Regions from separate parts of the Homo sapiens genome. Here regions 1 and 3 are each linked to region 2. The links are contacts of gene promoters, found by promoter capture Hi-C in human tissues and cell types (Jung and others, 2019). All regions are on one chromosome and are shown on one strand. The core of a region is centred on a gene start or on the middle of the fragment in contact, and the rest is flanking DNA. Distances in the headings are between cores, read along the strand shown. Region 1 overlaps RBPMS (RNA binding protein, mRNA processing factor). Region 2 holds the start of RBPMS (RNA binding protein, mRNA processing factor). Region 3 overlaps RBPMS (RNA binding protein, mRNA processing factor).

What was found. Contacts are between HindIII fragments. The study calls those that stand out against the background at their distance.
Region 1: a contact is called between a fragment that was not itself captured here and the fragment with the promoter of RBPMS in region 2, in 2 of the 25 tissues and cell types used here (bladder and spleen).
Region 3: a contact is called between a fragment that was not itself captured here and the fragment with the promoter of RBPMS in region 2, in 1 of the 25 tissues and cell types used here (neural progenitor cells).

What each region holds. Positions count from the first base shown.
Region 1 is chr8:30,418,916-30,421,940 of GRCh38, forward strand. The region is part of intron 1 of RBPMS (RNA binding protein, mRNA processing factor); the gene reads left to right. It overlaps LOC112268025 (a long non-coding RNA gene), which reads left to right. Exons shown (of 2, transcript XR_002956700.2): 2 at 1-960. Among named protein-coding and RNA genes, the nearest start is that of RBPMS-AS1, 35 kb to the left of the region's middle. The HindIII fragment of the contact is 8,156 bases long and covers 1-3,025 here.
Region 2 is chr8:30,382,641-30,386,171 of GRCh38, forward strand. RBPMS (RNA binding protein, mRNA processing factor) reads left to right here and starts at 1,901. Exons shown (of 9, transcript NM_001008710.3): 1 at 1,901-2,518. The coding sequence starts at 2,453. It overlaps RBPMS-AS1 (RBPMS antisense RNA 1), which reads right to left and starts at 2,761. Exons shown (of 3, transcript NR_046205.1): 1 at 2,504-2,761; 2 at 904-1,057. RefSeq lists enhancers at 1,688-2,358, 2,359-3,030. The HindIII fragment of the contact is 17,890 bases long and covers 1-3,531 here.
Region 3 is chr8:30,437,132-30,440,568 of GRCh38, forward strand. The region is part of intron 1 of RBPMS (RNA binding protein, mRNA processing factor); the gene reads left to right. Among named protein-coding and RNA genes, the nearest start is that of RBPMS-AS1, 53 kb to the left of the region's middle. RefSeq lists an enhancer at 564-1,099. The HindIII fragment of the contact is 6,276 bases long and covers 1-3,437 here.

The DNA.
Region 1 (3,025 bases), core at 203-2,702, 36 kb after region 2:
CTTTATACGTTGTAAACATTGATTGTTTTTGTCTTTAATATATTTTAGAAATATTTTCCCTAGTCTTTTTGCTTGTCCTTTTAAAGATAGGCCCCTGTTATCATTTGCTGTAAATGTCATCATCTGCATAGAAAATCCAAGATTATCAGTTGAAAAAAAAAAAAAAACAGAACTAATAAACTTCAGTAAGATGTCCAGATGAGAAAAACACAAAAATCACAGGGTTTTAATTTTATTTTTAAAAATATGGCTGGGCGCAATGGCTCAGGCCTATAATCCTAGCACTTTGGGAAGCTGTGGTGGGTGGATTACCTGAGGTTGGGTGTTCAAGACCAGCCTGGCCAACATGGCGAAACCCCATCTCTATTAAAAATACAAAAATTATCCGGGCATGGTGGTGCACGTCTGTAGTTTCAGCTGCTCAGGAGGCTGAGGCAGGAGAATCGCTTGAAACTGGGAGGCAGAGGTAGCAGTGAGCCAAGATCATGCCATTGCACTCCAGCCTGGGCGACAGAGTGAGATTGCATCTCAAAAATGTGTGTGTGTGTGTGTGTGTGTGTGTGTGTGTCAGCATAGGAAAGTAGTACAGGTAGAGAGCATTTCTAATCTCAAAATGCCCCACAATCTGAAGCTTTTTGAGCACTGACGTACCACAAGTGGAAAATTCCACACTTGACCTCATGTGACAGGTTTCAGTCAAAACTTGGTTTTCATGCACATGAGTATTAAAAATGTTTTATAAAACTACCTTCAGGCTATGTTTATAAGGTGTATATGAAGCGAATGAATTTTGTGTTTAGACTTGGTTCCCATCCCCAACATATCTCATTATTTTTAAAATATGGAAATATTCCAAAATCTGAAACACATCTGGTCCCAGTCATTTCACATAAGGGATTCTCACCCTGTACTAATCAATTAGAACACATAATAAAAAACAGATACCATTCTTGACAGCAATGAAAAACAAATTTGCAAGAACAGCTTGAAGAATACTGCATTCTGAAGGACAGAAAAGACCTGAATAGGTCTGGTGCAGTGGCTCATGTGTGTAATCCCAGCACTTTGAGAGGACGACATGCATGGATTGCTTGAGCCCAGGAGCTCGAGACCAGCCTGGGCAACATGGCAAGACCTTGTCTCAACAAAAGAAACCCAAAGAATTAACTGGACATGGTGATGTGTGCCCGTAGTCCCAGTTACTCTGGAGGCTTAGGTGGGAGGATCACTTGAGCTTGGGAGGTTGAGGCTGCAGTGGGCCGTGATCACACCACTGCACTTCATTCTGGGTGATAGAGCAAGACCCTGCTTCAAAAAAAAAAAAAGAAAGAAAATACCAAGTAAATGGAGATACAGATTGTATTTCTGTGGATAGATATTGTAAAGTCTCTTTTCTCCAAATTAAACATTAAATGAAATTCTGATAAAAATTCCCAAGTACTTTAAACAGAATTTGACAAGCTAATCTATAAGTCAGCTGGACTTATAAACATACATAAAGCCAAGAAAATTTGGAAAAGAACTCGGGGGGACTTTCCACACCGGATATCAAAACCCATTTTGAAATATTGTAGTTAAAAGAGACAAATCACCAAATGAAACTGAAGTCCACAGAGGTAAAGTTACTAGTTTAAGGTCACAGAGCTAGATGGGCATTTTTCATGCGGGTCAGTTGAAGTGTTTCTCAGTGGCTGGACTGATTGCATGTGATTCTAACTTTCAGCAATGTTGTAGACTTTATCGGGAGGCTTCTTCATTTCCCAATTAGAAAGATACTATCTTTTGGGAAAATTACTTATGCAGGGAATCAACCTATTAGACATTTGCCGAACTTGAATAAAATGAGAAAAGGAAAATCTGTCAAGCCTTCGTGTTTCATGTTGTAGTGTTTTCCCTGTAAATGCTTCCTCTATTGTAGCAGAGTAGTTCAGAGTTGAAGGGTCATCAGGGCAGAAGATGAAGAGAGTCCGGGGTCTATCTAGGAACAGTAGTTAGGAATGGTTTAGAAACTTTCAGTCAATTGACAGGCTAGTTAGTATTTTAGTGACATTATCAGTTAAAAGTTTAAAATACTTACCTATTTGAAGTCATGAAAATGGCTAATTTTGATTTATTTTCATCCCATGCTTTAAATTTATTTGTGCTGAATTGTGAAGATGATGAGCTTAAAAGTACAGGTTAGAGATTTAGAATTTGTATGTAATTACTCTTGTGAAAATTTGTTTTCTTAGGGAGGTGTGTGTGTGTGTGAGAGAGAGTGTGTGTGTGTGAGTGTGCGCATGAGCTGGTCAGCTGCAGAACCTTCTGGTTAGCAAACCTGATAGCATCTAGGGTGGAGCTAAGGGGGAAACATGTTTAATCACATACTCACCAGCTTCCTGGCACTAAGAAATTATCACCAGACAGCAGCCACCAGGATAATTTAACTTTAGTTCTGGACAGGCAAATGTGCAGCAATCATTTAAAGTAAATTTCTTAAAGAACATGTAGGAATTATGTCACTACTTTGTGGTGATGTTTCCATAAATCCTCTATAGTGTTTTTGTTATGTTTGTGTTTCTTATTAAAAATTCCTTAAGTACAAACATCATTTTCAAATATCATATTTAGTATTCCTACATTTGAAAGCCAAACATGACAAATTATTTTTTACAAATTTTCTAGGTACCTACTATGTGCCAAGGATAATGTCATATCCTCACATGTTTTATGGGTTAGGTGGAAAGTATTACACACAAGGTTAAAAAGGCTGTTTTACTGGCCGGGCATGGTGGCTCATGCCTGTAATCCCAGCACTTTGGGAGGCTGAGGCAGGTGGATCACAAGGTCAAGAGATCGAGACCATCCTGGCCAACATGGTGAAATCCCGTCTCTACTAAAAATACAAAAATTAGCTGGGTGTGGTGGCACGCACCTATAGTCCTAGCTACTCGGGAGGCTGAGGCAGGGGAATTGCTTGAACCCGGGAGGCGGAGGTTGCAGTAAGTCAAGATCGCAACACTGCACTCCAGCCTGGGTGACATAG
Region 2 (3,531 bases), core at 651-3,150:
GCAATTAAAAAAACATGTTTTCCTTATGGAAATCTTCCTGTTTCAAAATCTCCAAACCCCCAAGATAAATCCAATATGTAAATCCAAGTATCACTACTGTTTTTCTCCTCATAATGCCCTTAAAGCAAATATTTTCCTTGCTTTCTATAATCGGAAAGAGGATTCTGAGAGTATCTTGGCTCCATACCACTTTATTTTTTTGTCTTTTCTTTTTTTCCCCTCTGTGGAGAACAGAGTCTCACTATGTTGCCCAGGCAGGTCTTGAACTCCTGGGCTCAAGCAATCCTCTTTCCTCTATCTCCTTAAGTGCTGAGATTCCAAGTGTGAGCCACCATACCACTTTAAACTCCCTAAAGGGAGGGTCCTTATCTGCAACTCCCACAGCCACCCCCGCCCTATCCCCAGCAGCACTTAAACCAAGTATAAAGAATGTCTGGTGGGGGTGGGGAGAAACAGTTAAGCAAATACTGTAGTTGGAAACTGTTACCGGTGCAAGACAGGAGCAGCAGGCTGGGATGGAGAATTCCTGGGAGGAAGAAGTGGGGCAGAACCCACTGATATATGGAGTTCCACATTTATACCTTTGTAGCAGTCAAATCTAAGAGTTTAACACGGTGGCTCCACGTTGTAATCCCATCAGTTTGGGAGGCCAAAAGCAGGAGGATCACTTGAGGCCAGGAGCTCGAGCTCAGCCTGAGCAACAAAGTGAGACCCTCATTTTTCTAAAAAAAAAAAAAACCAAAAAACCATAAGCTTAAATGATCGAGTATTGGAAACGCTTTCTAAGGCCCTGGAAAAATAGAAGTTTTCTTAATAATAATGTTAGCTTCCATGTATTGTAAACCTAAACGAAGCAAGAATAAATGCTGGGTGCTGTATATAGCTCTATCAACCTATAATCACCTCGAAAACTCGAGGAGACACATTCAGCTGCTCCCATTTCACGGATGAGGAAACAAGTACGCAATCCTGAAGCTGGTGCAAAGCCCAGGCCCCCTTTCTTTTTCAAGCGTGCTTCCAGCCTCTGAAGTTCCTCCGTACGGACCCCCAGCTCTGCCTGCAATAAGGAATATTCACTTTGCCAACAAATATTTATTGAGTGCCTGCTATATACCCCTTAGCCCGTTTAAATAGCCGTGGGATTAAAAAGATAAATAGGGCAGGATTTTTTTTTTTCTTCCAGGAAGGAGCTTTCTGAAGGGTGAGGGAGAGGCCAGGTAAACAATCCCAGAACAGTCTGGTGAGAGTTGGGAGAGGAGTCGGGGGGCCGCGGGACGCTCAGGAAGCGAAGCGGGGAAGGCTCCGGGCGCGTCGCAGGACCCGCGCTGGAGATGGGTTTGAAGCCCTGTCCTGAAAAAGCCGGCCCGGAGTGGGCTGTCCCCGGTGTCCCTCGAGTTCTCATGCTGTCATTCAAGCAGCAGAGGAAGAACCGGGTCTGGCTCGGGAAGGGTGGGCTTAGGGCCAGGGGTGCAAATCCCTCGGTAAAAGCCGGCAAACTAAAAGTCGCACACATCCCAGGTCCCGGTCCAGGCCCCGGCGGGGCAGGGTCCCCGAAGTCCCGGGGCGCGCAGACGCCGGGGCCCCCGGGGGCCAAGGGAACGGCGGGACCCGACCTCCCTGCCCTCGGCCTCCCGGGCCCTCGCCCTCCGACCAGCCGCTGAGTCGGGGGCTGGGGTCGCCGCTTCCGCCCGCGGCCCGCTGCCCCTCCCCGGCGCGCGCCATCCGGCCGCCGGCCCCTCCTCCCGCGGGGGGCTCCGTCCCGCGCCCCGTCCCTCCGGGCTGCAGCCGGCAGCCCACGTCCAGGGAGGGCGGAGGGAGGAGGAGAGGCGCGGAGAGGAGGGAGGGGAGAGGGGAGGGAGGAAGGCGAGAGAAAGGGAGCTGCTTCCATCCCGGACTTCCCAGAGCCTGCCTGGAGCGCGTACTCAGCGGCTCTCGGGTCCCAGCGTCCCAGCCGCGGCCCGCGCTCCTCCGCCCCGCTCCTCCTCCTCCTCTTCCTCCTCCTCCTCCTCTCTAGGCACCCCCGTCCCCTCCTTCCAGCGGCTGCAGCCCCCAGCCCCAACTCTCCGCGCTTACTCCTGGGACGCGCGTCCTCGCCCCATCCTTTGCTTCCTTCCTTCCTTCCTTCTTCCTTCCTCCCCTGGCTCCCGCCCTCCCTCTCCAGGTCGCCCTCCCGGGGCCCGATTGTCTCGGTGCCCCGCTCCCGGCCCGCGCCCTGCCCCGTCTCTCCCTTGCACTTCCTGAGTCGCCCGCCGCCGCCGTCGCAGACTCGCCGCGGGAGCCCCAGCCCAACCCGAGCCCGACAGCCACTGCCCCGGCTCCAGCTCCAGCCCCACAGCCCGCGGCGCCCGCCCGAGGGAGCCCCGGCGCCCGGGGAAGGCTCCAGTGGGCTAGCGCGCCCTCGCCCAGCCCCGCGCCCCAGCCCTGCCCGGCCCGGCGAGGAAGGACCGGGAAGATGAACAACGGCGGCAAAGCCGAGAAGGAGAACACCCCGAGCGAGGCCAACCTTCAGGAGGAGGAGGTACTGGGCGGCTCGGTGTGGTGGCGGGGGCGACGCGGGACCCAGTGCGGGCGGCCGGCGGGGCGCGGGCCCGGGGCGCGGCGGTGGAAGAAGGTTCAGGCATGGCCCGTGCCCCGGACGCAGCCCCACAGTGTGGCCCGGGGAGGGTGGATCTCGGGAGCGTGTGTTTTTGTGTCCACGCGCGTCTGCGGGCCCCAAATTGCGTAACTCCAAGGACTTTTCGGAGACTTTTGTAAGTATAATGCTCAGCTTTGTTTGCCCGGGATTTATAAGTGGAACCGAGAGCTGACTCCTGGGTGACCTCAGATAATCGGGACTCGGAGGGTCAGGACTTAGGGCCGGGGCTGGAAATTGTGTATGGATTCAGGGTCGGGGGGGGAGCAGTTTAAGGAAGAAACTCGGGGGAAAGTTCTCGTTAAAAGATACCTCTATTCCCTGCCCCCTCCCTTTCCGTGTTAAAAGTTCTTGGTGAAATATCTTTCTAGCCGAGGTTTTTTGGATTAATAGATAACTCATCAGCCACATTCTTCTCTGCTGAGTCAAAGACCCCGAGCCTGGGCGGTGAACGCTTGTGATTTTAGGGGCCGTGCAGCTGAGGGGAGCAGAGTAAGAGGGTTAAAAACGCAGCAATTCACCAAATGCTCATCGAGGGTATTTTCATAGGACTTTGACTTCTGAGCATGCATTTTAGGTGGTGCGTCCGTAATCATGATGAAAGTTTTGTGACTGCGGAGCGTTCCTTCGGTGGAAACAAAATTGAGTAGATGTGGTCAGAAGGGGAGTCGGACTCAGGAACAAACGTTTCAGAATTCAGTAGGATATTTGTGGTATCCTACCAAATGACTCTTTTTGCAGGTACGTTATCTGGAGTCCAAGAAATTATTTCTGGCGTACTTCTTAACATCCCACACAGTTGAGTTCTTAAACATTCTAGAGGAACTTGAGAGTGTGTGTAGATGCAGGAAAGTGCACGTCTAAATATGACCCGAAAAGATTCACACAGGTATTGGATC
Region 3 (3,437 bases), core at 500-2,999, 54 kb after region 2:
AGGATGGTCTTGATCTCCTGACCTCATGATCCGCCTGCCTCGGCCTCCCAAAGTGCTGGGATTACAGGCGTGAGCCACCGCGCCCAGCCGATATATGTAGCATTTTGACCTAGATTTGTTGGGATTATAAGTCAAAATGTTAAAATTGATCTTATCAGAGCCTGCCACTTGGAAAAATAACTTTACTTCAGAAAAATTTTGTATTGAACTCTTTGAAGGCTTTTTTAAAAACGATGTTATTGGCTGGGCGTGGTGGCTCATGCCTGTAATCCCAGCACTTTGGGAGGCTGAGGCAACAGGATCATTTGAGGTTAGGAGTTCCAGACCAGCCTGGCCAGTATGGTAAAACTCCATCTCTACTAAAAATGCAAAAATTAGGCTGGGCTTGGTGGCTCATGCCTGTAATCCCAGCACTTCGGGAGGCCGAGGCAGGTGGATCACCTGAGGTCAGGAGTTTAAAACCAGCCTGGCCAACATGGCAAAACCCTGTCGCTACTAAAAATAAAAAAATTAGCCGGGCATGATATTGCTTGCCTGTAATCCCAGCTACTTTGGAGGCTGAAGCAGGAGAATCACTTGAACTCGGGAGATGGAGGTTGCAGTGAGCCCAGATCACGCCACTGCACTCCAGCCTGGGTGACAGAGCGAGACTCCATCTCAAAAAAAAAAAAAAAAAGGTAGCCGAGCGTGGTGGGCACATGCCTGTAATCCCAGCTACTCAGGAGACTGAGACAGGAGAATCACTTGAACCTGGGAGGTGGAGGTTGCAATGGACCAAGATTGTGCTACTGCACTCCAGCCTGGGTGACAGAGTGAGACTCCGTCTCAAAAAAAGAAAAAAAAAAAGTTGTTATTTTTACTTAGGAAATGATTTATCTATTTTGCAAGTTCATCTTAGAGCACAATTATAGCTATTTATTACTTATTATTCATTCCTATCTTCCCCTTTCCTCTGATAAATAACCTGGTAGTTTTTGGTAAAATAAGCTAATCAGCAGGGTTCTCTAAATAATACAGTCTCATGCCTGTAATCCCAACACTTTGGGAGGCCAGGACATGAGGATCACCTATGTAGCCAGGAGTTTGAGACCAGCCCGAGCAACAGAGTGAGCCAATTGCTTGTGTTGGCCTTTTACTTTCCATGTTTTAGGTTAGTCATTACTTTTATCAGGTACAGAGTATAACCAAGTGGATTTTTCCCTTCTGTCCTCCCTGTACAATGAAGGAGACTGACCGTAAGTGGAACCAGGAAGTGTTGACGTGGTCATTACTGCAAGGAAGGAGGAAAAATAGCAGCCAAAAATGCCATTTACGTGAAACTTGTGACTTGATTGAGGAAACATTTGCTCAAGCAAAAGCTTAACTGACTACCTCTAAACTGAGGAATGTAAGAATTACCATATTTACTTCTGCACTAGAATTAAATTCTTTGTGTGATCACTGTCTTTAGCTCTTATTCTAACACACTGGGGCATAATGAGAGAGGCATTTGAATGCAGATATTATATTATTCTACCTTAATAAATGTTTTTCTTTGTCTTTGCAATAATGATATTATTAGATAGGCTTGATGTCCCATGATTTTTGTCATCAAGTTCGCATCGTATCTATATAGAGAGATAGGAAGATGCGATCTTACTTTTTTTTTATTTATTTTTTTTGAAATAGCCTTGCTCTGCCAGCCCCGGCTGGAGTGCAGTGGTGCAATCTCAGCTCACTGTAGCCTCCACCTCCCAGGTTCAAGTTACTCTCATGCCTCAGCCTCCTTAGTAGCTGGGCCTACAGGCGCATGCCACCACACCCGGCTAATTTTTGTATTTTTAGAAATAGAGATGGGGTTTCACCATGCTGTCCAGGCTAGTCTCAAACTCCTGACCTCATGTGATCCACCTGCTTTGGCCTCCCAAAGTACTGAAATTACAAGAAGATGTGACTTATTTTAAATGTTTGTTTGCTGAGGGGGAATATCTGAGTTTACCTTTAAGCGTCAAAAATACTCTGATACTGCAGTACTAGTTGTTATTTTGTTCTTATTTGAGACTAAATTAACAGCTGTAGTCAGTTACTATGCTCAGGAAATAATGTTTGGAGATAAACTTTGTGTGTGCTCTCCGTACATTTCATAGTATCATTTAAAAGCAAACCTCTTTAATCAAAGTCAAAAGGAAAGGATGTGTTTTCTTTCTTCCATGTTTCTTGGCAGATCTTACAGGTGAGTGGGAAGTCATGAATGGGCAATTTCCAAGAAGTACAAAAGTAATTTTGTTCATAAAGCAAAATATTTTCCTTTGATTCATGATTTACAAGGAAACCCATAGCTTAGCACCTACGAGAAACTTTGAATAGGCTGACTTTGCAGTGAGGGTCTCAAAGAAGGAATGCGGTGAGCAAATCTTTTGACATTGTGATGATACATTCTTCTAAAGGTTAGGAGGAAAAACTTCTTTCTTAGAGTTTGGCTCCCCCACACCCCCTCTTGCTTCCCTCTTGCTAATTGCCCGTTTTTTGACTTTTTTTTTTCCTTTTGTTTTGTTTTTGTTTTGAGAAAGGGTCTCCCTCTGTCACCCAGGCTGGAATGCAGTGGCACCATCACTGCTCGCTGCAGCCTTGACCTGGCTCAGGCAGTCCTCCTACCTCAGCTTCCTGAGTAGGTATGAATATAGACATGTACCACTTTGCTCAGCTAATTTTTGTATTTTTTGTAGAGACGGGGTTTCACCATGTTGCCCAGGCTGTGCTTATTTTTTATAATTAAAAAAAAATTAAAGCCAGGTGCAGTGGCTTACGCCTGTAATCCCAGCACTTTGGGAGGCTGAGGCGGGATTACTTGAGGCCAGGAGTTCAAGACCAGCCTGAGCAACATAGTGAGACCTCGTCTCTACAATCAATCAGTCAGTCAGTCAATCAATCAGTCATTCGATCAATCAACTGCAGTAAAGTACACAAAACAAAAGTTTACCATCCTAACCATTTGTTTATTTTATTTTTTGGAGACGGGGTCTCATTCTATTACTAAGGCGGGTGTCAAACTTGTGGCCTCAAGCAATCCTCCTTCCCAATGTGCTAGGATTACGGGTGTGAGCCACTGTGCTGAGCCCTAGCCTTTTTTAAGTGTACAGTTCAGTAGTGTTGAGTATATTCACATTGTTGCTCCACAACTTTTACATCTTGCAAAACAGAAACTCTATACCCATTAAACAACAGCTCGCTGTCCCCACATCCACCCCACCTCTAACCCCTTGGCAACCAGCATTCTTACTCCCTTTTTCTATGGATTTGACTAGTTAGATACATCATGTAAGTAGAATCATTCAGTATTTGTCTGTTACTGGCTTTAAGTCAGCCTAATGTACTCAAAATTCATCCATGTCGTAGCGTGTGCCAGAATTTCCTTCCTTTTTAAGGCTTCCATCGTATTTTTCCATCCTTCTGTCAAA